2 separate regions of the Homo sapiens genome follow, and region 1 is linked to region 2. Evidence: promoter capture Hi-C in 16 types of primary human blood cells and fetal thymus (Javierre and others, 2016). All regions are on one chromosome and are shown on one strand. The core of a region is centred on a gene start or on the middle of the fragment in contact, and the rest is flanking DNA. Distances in the headings are between cores, read along the strand shown.

What was found. The method cuts DNA at HindIII sites, captures the fragments that hold promoters and counts their contacts. A CHiCAGO score of 5 or more calls a contact.
Region 1: a fragment that was not itself captured here is called in contact with the fragment with the promoter of BTBD10 in region 2 in 1 of 17 cell types (total B cells); the score reaches 5.1 in total B cells.

What each region holds. Positions count from the first base shown.
Region 1 is chr11:14,229,946-14,236,952 of GRCh38, forward strand. The region is part of intron 6 of SPON1 (spondin 1); the gene reads left to right. Among named protein-coding and RNA genes, the nearest start is that of RRAS2, 130 kb to the right of the region's middle. RefSeq lists silencers at 1-292, 849-1,067 and enhancers at 1-588, 589-1,175. The HindIII fragment of the contact is 6,386 bases long and covers 330-6,715 here.
Region 2 is chr11:13,461,272-13,467,635 of GRCh38, forward strand. BTBD10 (BTB domain containing 10) reads right to left here and starts at 1,951. Exons shown (of 9, transcript NM_032320.7): 1 at 1,821-1,951. RefSeq lists an enhancer at 2,131-2,320. The HindIII fragment of the contact is 1,255 bases long and covers 1,343-2,597 here.

The sequences.
Region 1 (7,007 bases), core at 2,273-4,772, 770 kb after region 2:
GTGTCCGTGTGTGTGTGTGTGTGTGTGTGTGTGTGTGTGTGTGTTCTCAAATTCCTAGAACGGACACCCTTTAGTGTCTGCCACAACACAAAATTTCTCCTGTCATCTCCCAAGTCTCTCCCCAAACCTCAAATATGTGGGGTACTCGAGAATGAAAAGGGTTAACCTTTCACAGCTTAGGAGAGCTGTTACTTTGCATTTAAATAGCCGCATTTAAGAAAGCAGCATTCCCAGGATCCTTATTTGATACTAATGTGCTGAACACCTTAAAGCACACTTACTTCTCCCCCATTCGGGTCACTTGGAGCTTCATTACTTAATAATTTGAAAGCTTTTTATGGAAATCAGTTGATAAAGGGAGATGATGAAGTGAAATGTTATTACATTTAAAGACCCAGCAAACTAGGCTGCCAGAATAACACCTGCGTCAGACATTTCTAAGTAAAGAAAGAGAAGGAGAAGGAGATATTGGTGTGTGGATGAATTCTCATTTCTTTTGAAACTGCCGTTACTTTAAAGATACTCCTTGCCTAACAAAGCCTAACACTCTTTAAAATTGTCAAGTGAAGAACTCATCAGCTATCTTATGAATTCTACCCCTGCCATGGCGCTCTGTCCCCCTGCCCACCTTCCCAGCCGCTGCCTTGGCTTCAAGCCCATTGGGTCTAGAGGTCCGCCCTACTCTCCTCCACAGGCAGGGTCAGCCTCACACAGTGCCCACCTCAAAAGCCTTCATGACTAACCAGTTGAGAAAACCCTGGGAAACAGGCTTGGATGCGACCTTTTCTTTTTACTTTCCATTTTTCTTTCTCTCTCTCTTTCCTTCCTTCCTTCCTTCCTTCATTTTTTCGTGGTGGTGGTGAGACAGGGTCTCACTCTGTCACCCAGACTAGGGTGCAGTGGCACAATCACAGCTCACTGCAGCCTTGACTTCCTGAGCTCAAGCGATCCTCCCACCTCAGCCTCCTGAGTAGCTGAGTAGCTGGGACTACAGGCATGTGCCACCACACCCAGCTAATTTATTTTTTATGTTTTATTTGTATTATTTGTAGAGATGAAGTCTCACTCTGTTGCCCAGGCTGGTCTCGAATTCTTGGATTCAAGCAGTCTTCTTGCCTTAGCCTTCCAAAGTGCTGGGATTACAGGCATGAGCCACTGTGCCCAGCCGCCACTTTTTTTCTTTTTTTTCTTTTTTTTTTTTTATTTGAGATGGAGTCTCACTCTGTCACCCAGGCTTGAGAGCAGTGGCATGATCACAGCTCACTGCAACCTTCACCTCCCAGGTTCAAGCAATTCTCCTGCCTCAGCCTCCGGAGTAGCTGGGACTACAGGCGCATGCCACCACGCCTGGCTAATTTTTTGTATTTTTAGTAGAGACAGGGTTTTACCGTGTTAGCCAGGATGGTCTCGATCTCCTGACCGCGTGATCCACCTGCCTTGGCCTCCCAAAGTGCTGGGATTACAGGTGTAAGCCACCACACCTGGCCCCAGCCTCCATTTTTTTAATGGCAATATATTCACATGGTTTGAAAATCAAAAGATATATAATAAGGTTACACAGTGACAATCCTCAGCCTTTTGCTTGCTCCCTGGTTACCTAGTTCCCTTCTCCTGAGGCAACTGATTTTTGTAATGTTCTTATATATCCTTCCAGAGATACTTTATGCAACTAGAAATATATACACACACAATTTTCTTTATCCTTACCACCCCTCTCCACAAAGGTAAATAGATTACACAAATAGATTACTATACAAACTGTACTGTAGTTTGCTTTTAACATTTAATATATCTTACAGATACTCTTACTTGTGACATGACTTTTTTAATGGTGAATCCAAAGACTATACAGCAATGTCTAAAAAAAAAAGATTCAAAAGTATATACGTGTGTGTGTGTGTGAGTTTTGTGCATAAGTTATGATGTCAACTATGACAAACAAATGAATATTGCAATTGATGAAAGCTGCTGGGTAAGGATGGTGGGATTATAGGGTCATTCTTTTTGTTTCTCTCTCCTCCTACGCCGTGTGTGTGTGTGTGTGTTTGTCTCTGTGTGTGTGGCCAAAACATGGTTATGTTTTTAAATTCTAAAGACCTTATTTCAGTATGTGAGGTATATTTTCATTTTGGTAGAGTTCTTTCCTGGCCCTTTCATATGCATCAGCATCTGTTTCTTAAAATACTTGAGTCACTTTATTGGTGAAGGCTTCCTCCACCACTCTAAAATTGCAGCATAACTCTCTCACCCCATCCTGGCCCTCCCCCTCACCCTTCCCGGCTATATTTTCCCCGGAGAGCTAATCAGCACTGGACACACTGTGTAGCTGTTATGTCTGCCTCCTCCTCCGGAATGTAAGCTCCTTGAGGACAAGGATGGGTGTGTCTTCTGTTCAGGGCTCATTCTCCAGCACGTGGAATAGGCCTGGCACAGACTAGGGGCTCCATCTATCATTGCTGGATGAATGAGTCCTCACCATCAGCCCCAGCAACCCAACCCACATGCTCTCTGGCTCATGCCTGTAACCACTAACCAGAGCACCTGCAGATAACCAGTAACCAGAGCATCTGCAGCTCTGTCCTCTGCTTCCCTTTTCCCTCCCCACTCTGGCAACTCTGGAAGACCACTCCTCCCTCCCAGGTCTGGATCTCACCTTAGGGATCCATTCCTGCAAGTGCACCCTCCCTCTCTCCTGCAATATGAGCTTATCTTCTATATTGGATTATACACTTGGACATACAAACTTGCCCTCATATCACACATCTTTCAAAAAATAATCACATGTCCTTCCTGCTACTGCCATTTTTCTCAACTCCACAGCCGACTTCTCAAAAAGCGCTGTCTGGGCTTGCTGGTTCCGCTAATTCACCTCTGTCTTTCCTGAACCTGCTTCCATTGTATTTTCAGTAGTGGCCAGTGGGGCAGCGGCGGCAGCAGTGAGCACATGGCAGGGGGGGCAGTAGGGCAGCAGTAAACAGAGGCCGCAGAGGTAGTGGGGTAAGCACAGGGTTTCTGAAGAGGCCCTGGGCAGGTCCTGGTGTCCTCCTATCTCTCTGGCCATTATACCTTAGTCTGCTTTGCTCTCCCCCATCCTCTCCTCTGCCTCCATTCACTCCCCAGGTAATCTATCCTGTGGTTTTAACTACCAGTCTCTATGCTGATGACTTGGAGTTTACGTCTCCAGCCTGGACTTCTCCGTTGAGCTCCGGCCTCATATATCTACCTTCCTACATGACACCTCCTTTTGGAGTCATCCTTGACCCCTCTTTGTTTTATACCTCACATCCAATCCATCAGCAGATAACGCTGAGCCGACCTGTAAAATATATCTGCATCCCATGCCTTGAACCCCTTCCATTGCTCTTCCCTGGCCCTATGTCGCCAGACACAGCAATGGCCTCCTGCCTGGGGTCCTTGCTCCCCAGCTTGCCCCACTCCAGTTACTTTCCCTGAGCAGCCAGCAGGATCCTTTAAAAATATGAATCAGGTCATACCACTCTTCTGCTCACAAACCCCTCAGCCATGTTCCAGTCCCATCACACTCTGAACAACAGCCCCTAAACCCTCTGGGAGGGCAGCCAAGGCCAGAGACTTCCTCTAGCTTATTATTAACTAATTGTTTAATTAACTAATTCATTATTTATCCCTTAAATATTCCCTGCATACCTCTCACAAGCCAGGCTGGTGCTGAGGATATAGAAGGGATGCAATGCGGCCCCTGCTCTAATGCTGGCTTCTGGGACGGGACCTGCCCTGGGATGGCAGTGGGGATGGGAATCATGGTTGAGGAGTGTCCAACACTGTTTCTTTTTCTTTTTTTTTTTTTTTTTTTTTGAGATGGAGTTCTGCCCTCGTCGCCCAGTCTGGAGTGCAATGGTACAATCTCAGCTCACTGCGACCTCTGCCTCCTGAGTTCAAGCAATTCCCCTGCCTCAGCCTCCCAAGTAGCTGGGATTACAGGTGCCCGCCACCATGCCCAGCTAATTTTTGTACTTTTAGAGATGGGGTTTCACCATGTTGGCCAGGCTGGTCTCAAACTCCTGACCTCAGGTGATCCATCAACCTTGGCCTCCCAAAGTGCTGGGATTACAGTGTGAGCCAAAGCACCCGACCCCCAGTGCTGTTTCTTGAAGACTACAGGATGTGTTCCCATGGGGTAGGGTTAGGGGTGCTGAAAGGGGCACTACCCTTACAGGTTGAGGCACCTCCAGTCAGATCTGGCCTGGATCATGGGCTGGGCTTCCTCACAGCCCTTTCTGTTTGAAGGCAGACAGCCCTTGCTTGATGTTCTCTCCTGTTTGGATTTGGCATCACCTACGTGATGTTCGAATACCTTCTGCTGTGGCCCCCTTTTCCCTTCTTTGCTCTGGCCTTGGCACTAAGGTTTTTCTGACTGCTGAAGGTCAGGTAGAAGATGGGGAGGCGGACCACGGAAGAGCAGGTCCTGGGGGCTGGTGGGATGGGAGGCAGGCATGCCCCATCAGCCTCTTCTGCTCCTTTGCTCACTGATTTTACTCAGGGGAGCAGCAGACTTGTGTGAGCACTAAAAAGAACATAATAAAAATGCAGAAAATGAGGTTAAATCCAGGATGGTACTTCAGTTACCAAAGGACAAGCTAAGTAAATGCCGATGGCCAGTGCCAGCACACAGAAGGTCATAGGGTGATGTGAGTCCTCAGAGCTCCCACCCACCGGAGGCAGCCCTTGGGCGGAGGGGCAGTGGGGCAGGCCCGGAACAGCTCTGATGGTCCCTTCCTCTCTGGCTTCAGAAATGCCAAGCTGCTTCCACAAAACCATCTCAGGGGAAAATCATTATCTACGGACATTATGCAATTTTCCCATCGAAATTACAAGCTGTGTTTGAAAAGAAATAAAAAGAAATTGAATTTGAAATGCTTCTGTGCAAACGCATCATCTTCTAGTGGATCTGCTAATGGGCTTCAGATACTTTCTCTTGCTCTAAAATAGTTGATCAGACAGCAGCTTGTGATGGTGGCTGCTTCCCGGGGAACGGGGCATAGAATGAGCACTTATGAACGGCCAGCCAGCCCACCTGAGCCAGGTTCAGAACCTGTGAGCTCTGACCACGGTTCCCAAAGTGGTCACTGTATGCTGTCCCTTCCCCTCCTCTACCTGGCAGTGCTGGCACGGCTCTATGCTGGGACTCTCACTGCTCCTCCAGCGCCTCCAGCTGACACCCAGGTCGATGAGTGTCACTTCACACTGCGCTGGCTCCATCCTAGGTCCAGGGAGTGCCCACGGACTGGGCCTCGGAGGACACCAGCCCCTTCCTCATCACAGCCTCTCATTCACCCAACAAGTATTAGTTAAGCGTGTTCCCAACACAGATCTAAACACTGATAGTACAGCAGTGAGCAAAACAGACAAACACCCTCGCCCTCTTGGAGCTTCCATTCTAGCAGGGGGAGATAGACAATAAAAAGTAAATAAGGCAGGACATGGTGGCTCACGCCTGTAATCCCAACACTTTGGGAGGCTGAGGCAAGCAGATGGCTTGAGCCCAGGAGTGTGAGGCCAGCCTGAGCAACAAAGCAAGACCCCATCTCTACAACTAATTTTAAAACTAACTGGGCATGGTGGTAGGCACCTGTAGTCCCAGCTATTTGGTATGCTGAGGGTAGAAGGATGGCTTGAGCCCAGGAGGTCATTCTACAGTGAGCCATGATTATGCCCCTGTACTCCAGCCTAGGCAACAGAGAAAGACCCTGCCTCAAAAAAAAAAAAAAAAAAAAAAAAAAAAAGTAAGCAAAATGCACAGTCAACTGGACAATGGCAAATGTTATGAAGAAAAGATAGTGGGATAAAGGAATAGGGATGCTGAGTCAAAAAGGGGGCAGGGACCTGCCATGGACATCAAAGTCCTCACTGAGAAGTTGACATTTGAGCAAAGACCTGGAGGAAACAAAGGAGAGAGTGCTCTGGTATCTGGGAGAACAGCATTCCAGGCACAGGGAACAGCAAGTGCAAGGTGTGCCTGGCATGTTTAAAGATACATAAGAAGTCCAGGATGCCGAAACCCAGGTTGTGGAAGAGTAGTAAGAGATGAGGCTCAGGAGGACAGGCAGACCATGGAGGGTGTGGGGGACCAGAGCAAGGTCCTGTCTGCTGTGAGATGCAAAGCCACTGGAGGATTTTGGCCAGAGGAATGGCATGATATGACTGCTGCACGAACAAGAGTCTGGAGGAAGGGAGGGGAGGTAGAGAGACCTGCTAGGAAGCAACTGCACTCATCTAGCTGAGCGATGATGGTGGCTTGGATCAGGATGGAGGCAGGCAGGAGACGGAAAGTGGTTGGATCATGAAGATATTTTGGAAGTGGAGTTGACAGGGTGTGCCGATGGATCAGTTGCAGGGTGGGAGAGAAAGAGGCATCCAGGGTGGATGGAACTGAAAGTACGGCATTGCCATGTAATGGGATGGGAAGAATGAAGGAGGCTGGGCTTAGGGAGGGGAAGATCAGGAGTTTGGTTTCAGGCACGTTGTTGAGTTTGAGATGCCACTTAGATACCCAGATGAAAATGTTGAGTGGCTGATATGCAAGTCTAGAGTCAGAGGCTAGTTTGCAATAGAAGATTACAGCTTAGGAATCATCAGCATATACACAGTTGGCTTTTTAAGGCAGGGGACTAAATGAAATCACCAAGGGAGTGTGGATAAAAGAGAAGACCAAAGGCTTGAGCCCTGGGGCACTTCAAGCTTTAGAGGAAAGTGAATAGGAGTCAGCGAGGGAGACTGAGAAGGAAGAGTTGATGAAGTGGAAAGAAAATCAGAGGCAGCAAGTCCCAGAGCCAAGGAGAAAGCTTTTCAAGGCAGAGGGAGTGAGTGACCAGCTGTGTCAAATACTGCTGAGGGGTCACAAGAGCTGAGAGCTGGGCACTGACTTTGGCTTTGGCACGGAGAGGTCACTGGTGACCTTGACGGGAGCAGTGAGTCTGCTGTCAGAGGAGAGGTGAGTCTCAGTTGCCTCACCTGAGAAATGGGGACAC
Region 2 (6,364 bases), core at 701-3,200:
TAGTTGTCAATATTTTTAAGACGCAAGACACTGAATGCAAAAATCTAGATTTCCGAGTTCTCTTGAGAATGCTGAAGATGGGGTCCATATTCTTATATAGCACTGATTAGGGGGACCTGAGACTTGGATGTCTCTCTGATAAGGCATAGTGCATTTCCCTCATTTTCATTATCTAACTAGTACCCGAAGGCATGTGAGTTTGTTGCTCATGCTATGGCTTTGAAAGGTGCACAATATTTTCCATATCACTTCCATACTTCCCTAAGTCACCTATTATAAAAAGCCAAAAGCAGACCACAGTGGTTTGCAACTCCATAGTTAATAATTTAAAAAATTCACATGGCTTAGAGGGAGTGAGAAAGAAGAAAATTCAGACTGGTGGAAGGGTAACATAATTACATAGGGTTAGAAGTCTATCTGAAAGCTTTTCTGGGAGTGAGAAAAAAGGTGAACGAACACAAAAACATTGTTGAAACACTAAAAGCTTTCCTGATTGAACACTGTTACTCTCTGGTGGTTCCTTACCACATTCCATGCTTCAGAAACTTCCTTCCTACTTTGTATGTATTAATATAATAGCTGTTAGGTCATACACGCTGAGAAATATTGGGAAAATTTATAAAACACATTTACATCATCAGAAATAATTCTTCTCACACTTTTTTTTTTTTTTTTTTTACCAGTCTTGGTCCACTTTCAAATCCCTTCCCAAGTATTTTCTACTGCTTTCCGCTTTATATTCAAATGACAACTGCAGTCCTGGGTTTCAGGACTGAACTTCAATCCTGGACAGGCTCTCTAATACAGAAACTCTTTTGGCCGTTATGGCTGCATTCTTTATTATATCTCTTATTCCGATTTCCACAGTCTCTTTCATTGAAAATTTATCCCTAACCCCCTCTCTAAAAGATTTTGATCAAATTTGTGTAGTTGGGGGGTTGGGAGGATAGGGGCGGGAAGGAACTCAGTTGTCCAAATACAATTAATATCCTGTGCTGTTTCATTTAGATTGCTAATTTAAATAAAAAGCATGAAAACTCTGCAAGATAATAAATCTTCGTAAAATAATCTTGTTTACTAAGTGCACAAAGCCACAAGCAAGTGAAGCTCTATCTTTCAGCATGTCTGGACTAGTGACTTTTCATCATGGACTCAGAATACTGAGAAAGGAGAAGCAGGAAATCTGTGAGGCCCAGGGACAGTCACACTGGCCCACACTAACAAATTACTAACCGATGTCTCACCTTCCCCCGCCCCATTCCCAAAGATAAGGGTGTCAGGGCACCTGCATCTGAAGAAGAAAGACATCAGAACCTTTTCCGTGCAAGTTTTAAGAAAACAAAGCTTTACCACACGTAAAATGGTTACAACATAAAACCACGCAGCACGTTAGTGGGGTCTCACTCCTCTTCACCCAGAGGGAGGCTGCCCACCACCTTATCCCCTATTGTGATGCGCCTTCCTCAGGATGTCGCTGCGTTCGTCTGAGATGACAGGAAAGGGGCGGGGCACGGGGTTCCTCTGCCCTGGAAAGGGATGAGGGTATCGCCTTCATCCCCGGAGAAAGGCCCCCGGACTCCCAACCCAAAAGCAGCAGCCGCAAAACTCAAGTCTTATCCCGGCCTCTCCTAATTGGGTGCTCGTGGCCGGAGCCCAAAACGCCACCCACGGTACCCGAGCAGGGTCCGGCCGCCCAGACCACCGCCGCAGCAGCCTGGCTCTCACGCCCAGATTCGCCCTCCGCCCCTTTCCTCTTTCGCCCCGGCCAAGCCCAGCCTCCCGCGCCGCCCCCGCCGAGTTCCCCAGCTGAGTCCACTCACTCTCGAACCTGTAGTCCCCCTTCAGTGCCCACACAAGATTGGGGCAAAGGCCGGGGCCAGTGACACCTCCACTTCCTCCTCAGCCAGATCCCTCCGGAGGTGGCTGTGGAGGAAGCCACTGAGGCGGCTGCGCGTAGCGGAGCCGCCCCGGCAGGTTGCAGGCCGGCTCCTCAGCCTCTTACCGCGAGAGCTCACAATGCGAAGAGGCGAGGCCAGCAGCGTTCTCGCGAGAACGGTGCTCTCCGCCCAGGGGTGGGCGGGGCACCGAAGGAGAAGGCAGTTGAGGGCGCGGCGGCCACGGGTGGGATCTCAGGCGCGTGGAGAGGAAGGCGCCGCGCGACCTCTCCTCACAGACATCAGCTCGGGTCAACCGCGGGCCTCGAGCCCGAGTGGCTGAGGGCTGTTACCTTCAAACCTTTGAATCCCACGTTTTCCCCTTGACTTCCTGTCACCGTTAGAGAAAAGTGGACAGCGTCTCGGTCACAGAGTTGGAGAAATAGTGCAGGGACTCTTCAGGGAGAGCGTTTTCCTCATCAAAGCAAACTGCAAAATCGCTTCTGCCGGCGTGGACCTGATGAGAGTCGGTCGTCGTGAGGGACACCCTCTGTTCCCTAACGTCCCCCGCTGCTTATTTTTAAACGCTCGGTTGGCGGGAACCCCTGTGCCAGCTGAAACTCCTTCAGTTTGGCCGCCTAGGAAACACCGAGAGTCACCTACATGGGCTGGCTGGGCAATAAAAACGGGAAAAAATGTAAAAGACACAGTCTCCGCCTTCGAAGCTTACACCCCCGGGGCAAGACCTACAGGAAAATAGATAATCCCATTATTCTCTGATAAAAGCCGAGCTGCTTGCCATGAGCTCTGGGAGCAGACGGGGAGGCCTTGTTGAGAAAGCCTTCACCTGGGAGTGACAATTGCGCTGAATCTTAAGCATAAGTAAGTTCTCCAGTTTAGGGAAGAGAGGGAAGGGCATTGCAAGGAGAGGAAGCAAAGAGGAAGAGGACCTGGTTTGAGTAATTGGGTATGAAAACAGATATTGCAGCAAGAACTTTGTTGAAAAACCTTTAACCACTGTTTAGTTCGGATGAGAACATTCCCAGGCTCCTACGTGTGATACGCAAAGTATTTTCCAAATCAGTGTTTATGCTAAGAAGATGAGCAGTTGAGCTGGACAATTATAAGATAACTTCATCTTTCTCCTGTAAGGACACTTAAATATCAGAAACCTAAGAGAAACGGGTTATTGTCGTAATTCACTAAGTTATTATAGCCAACATTTTGCTAAATTGGAAATTGCCAATAATTTCAAGTTGTCTACATAAGAGCAATCTAATAGGAATTTTGTGATACAGTTTCTCAGAGAAACTCTGAGAAAATTCTCAGGCAAAAAACAAAAACGTCATCAGTCCTGATTTATTATCAAAATTTTCTCCTATAAGCTCTGCTCAGAAGAAGTCATTCTGTAGTCCAAGTTAGGGCTAATGAGGAGCCATACTCTTACATCAAAATAGAAGCTGTCCTTTTCTAAAGAAAGACTCTGGTATTTTGCTGTAGTTTCCACTCACCTTCCTTTGGACACATTATTTTCATATTACATATAAAAATATGTATACTATATGAAAAATACTATGTATACTATAGTTTTATTTGGCTTACCATACTCTCCCTACGAATAAGCCCAACACTTAGGAGGAAAACAAAAAAGTTATTCTAACCCTGCTGATACGGTTTGGATCTATGTCCCCACCTGACCTCTCATGTGGAATTGTAATCCCCAGTGTTGGAGGTCGTTGGATCATGGGGGCAGATTTCCCTGTTTTTGCCATTCTGGTGATAGTGAGTTCTGGTGAAATCTGTTCTTTAAAAGTGTGTGGCGCCCCCCCACCCCCGCCCCACTCCTCCCACCATATAAGACGTGCCTGCTGTACCTTGGCTTTCTGCCATGATTGTAAGCTTCCTGAGGCCTCCCCAGAAGCCCAGCAGAAGCCGTCGGACTTCCTGTACAGCCTGCGGAGCCGTGAGCCAGTTAAACCTCTTTGTTTTATAGCAGTGCAAGAATGGACTAATGCACCTGCCATAGGCCAATTGGGTGTTCTGTTAAGCATAATTTCACATCAAGTTCTTGGAATTTTCCAGGAAGCATTAGAAGAATCATATGAATGAAAGACTTCAGGCAAAATATGGAAACTTTGTTCCATGCTGGAATCTGTTCAAACCATCATATCCTACTTGGATGGGTCCTGGAGCTCATTTCATTCTGCTGTTCTTCAAAAACAAAAGAGAATGGGAGTTGGGAGAAAATAGAAAATCGAATAAAGTTTCTACTGTTCTTTGCTTTAAAAGAAAATTAATCGGCCGGGTTCGGAGGCTCGCGCCTGTAATCCCAGCATTTTGAAAGGTCGAGGCGGGCAGATCACGGGGTCAGGAGATCCAGACCATCCTGGCTAACATGGTGAAACCCCGTCTCTACTAAAAATACAGAAAATTACCCGGGGGTGGTGGCAGGCGCTTGTGGTCCCAGCTACTTGGGAGGCTGAGGCAGGAGAATGGTGTGAATCCGGGAAGCGGAGCTTGCAGTGAGCAGAGCTTGTGCCACTGCACTCCAGCCTGGGCGACAGAGCGAGACTCCGTTTCAAAAAAAAAAAAAGAGATAATTAACCTTTCAAATATTAAGGTAGTAGCACAGTAGCACTGGTAACAGTTATACATTTGGTAGGTAATGCCATAGATTTAGATAATCACAAATCTGCTCTACACGATAATTTGTAAATGCTAGCTGACTGCATAGGCTAAGGTTCAGAACTTTAATGAAAGTCTTTCTTCCACACACCAAAGAGGTCCATACAGAAAGAGAAGTTTCATATAGTAGCAGTGAACAAACAAGGTCGTTTGGTAGTTTGTGTTATAGCATGCTAAGGCAATATTGTTTCAAAGCAGATAAGACCACAGACCCAGAATCCTATTTAATTTTTAAAACCTGGAATTTCTTTGTACTACTAAGTTTGAGCACTGCCATCTAATGGCAGGAACAGGAAAATCACATACACGCAAAAATAACTCGATCCCTATTCAGCAAATACATTTATTAATCAAGCCCCTGTGTAAGAATACCAGAAGAGCTGGGCACTGTGGCACGTGCCTATAATCTCAGCACTTTGGGAGGCGGGAGGATCACTTGACAGGAGTTCGAGACTAGCCTGGGCAACATAGCAAGACTTCTCTACAAAACTGAAAAAAATAAAAATACTAAGAGATACAGATAGTATTATACATATTCTGACAAAATGAGATGTATAATTAAATAACAAAAGGAAAACAAGTTAGGTCAAAGATAGAAATAGTGTGTTATGGGAGGACAGAGATGAAGATTACTCTTTTTTTTTTTTCTTTTTTGAGATGGAGTCTCGCTCTGTTGCCCGGGCTGGAGTGCAGTAGTGCAATCTTGGCTCACTGCAACCTCTGCCTCCCTGGTTCAAGCAATTCTCCTGCCTCAGCATCCCGAGTAGCTGGGATTACAGGCATGTGCCACCACGCCCGCCTAAATTTTTGTATTTTTAGTAGAGATGGGGGTTTCACTGTGCTGGCCAGGCTGGTCTCGAACTCCTGACCTCAGGTGATCCACCTGCCTTGGCCTCCCAAAGTGCCGGGATTACAGGCGTGAGCCACCGCACCCAGACATAAGATTACTTATTTTTATTTTTTCTTTTTCTTTTTTTTTTTTTTTAAGAACACCACCTTTAAGGAGAGCTAGCTTGTAAGCTCCTTTTTTCAGGGGCATGGGCCTTCTCATTATCACTTCAATGGGAGAGAGCTGATGTATTCCAAGCAGGGTAGAATTTAAGCTAAGCAAATGAAAGAGTCTTAGGCCAAGGAAGGTAAGACGTTTCTGTAAGCTTTGCCAATTGATTTTGTATTTTCCATTTGTGCATCCCACCAGTCTGGAAGACTGAGGGTAGTATACACAATGGAAATGCTAATTCATCTCATCTCAATCAGCTTTCACCACACAACATTTCTATAAACATTTTATAAACTCATAATTTTTTTCAATTTTCTTTCTTTCCTCAATTTTCTATATCCATTCAGTTTTATCGTTTTTTAAATCTCTTCAACTTAAAACAACCTTTAAAAACCTCTGGACAAAATTACTTTCTTTTTAACAAAAAAACATATTCTCATGCCTCCTTCATAATCCTTTCTACCAAAAATTCATCCTATTTTTCTTATACACTCTGTATACACAATTGTTTCTCTTATATCTAGTAATTTTAATTACATTTGTTAATTACAATTTTAACTCTTAGTAACCTTAATTTCTAGTGAAAAACCTAGAAAGTAATTTCAAACTGTTTTATATCAGTAGTTGTAGATAAATTTTTTAATTAACATATAAATATAATTAGTTTTTCTATACCACATAAAAACAAGATGCTAAAATATACAAACTTAAACTTATGTTTAGAGATTAATAGTTCAGTATTTTAACTTAGAAATAATATTTCAGTATTTTAACTTAGAAGTGACTCTGACATCTTATGCTTATC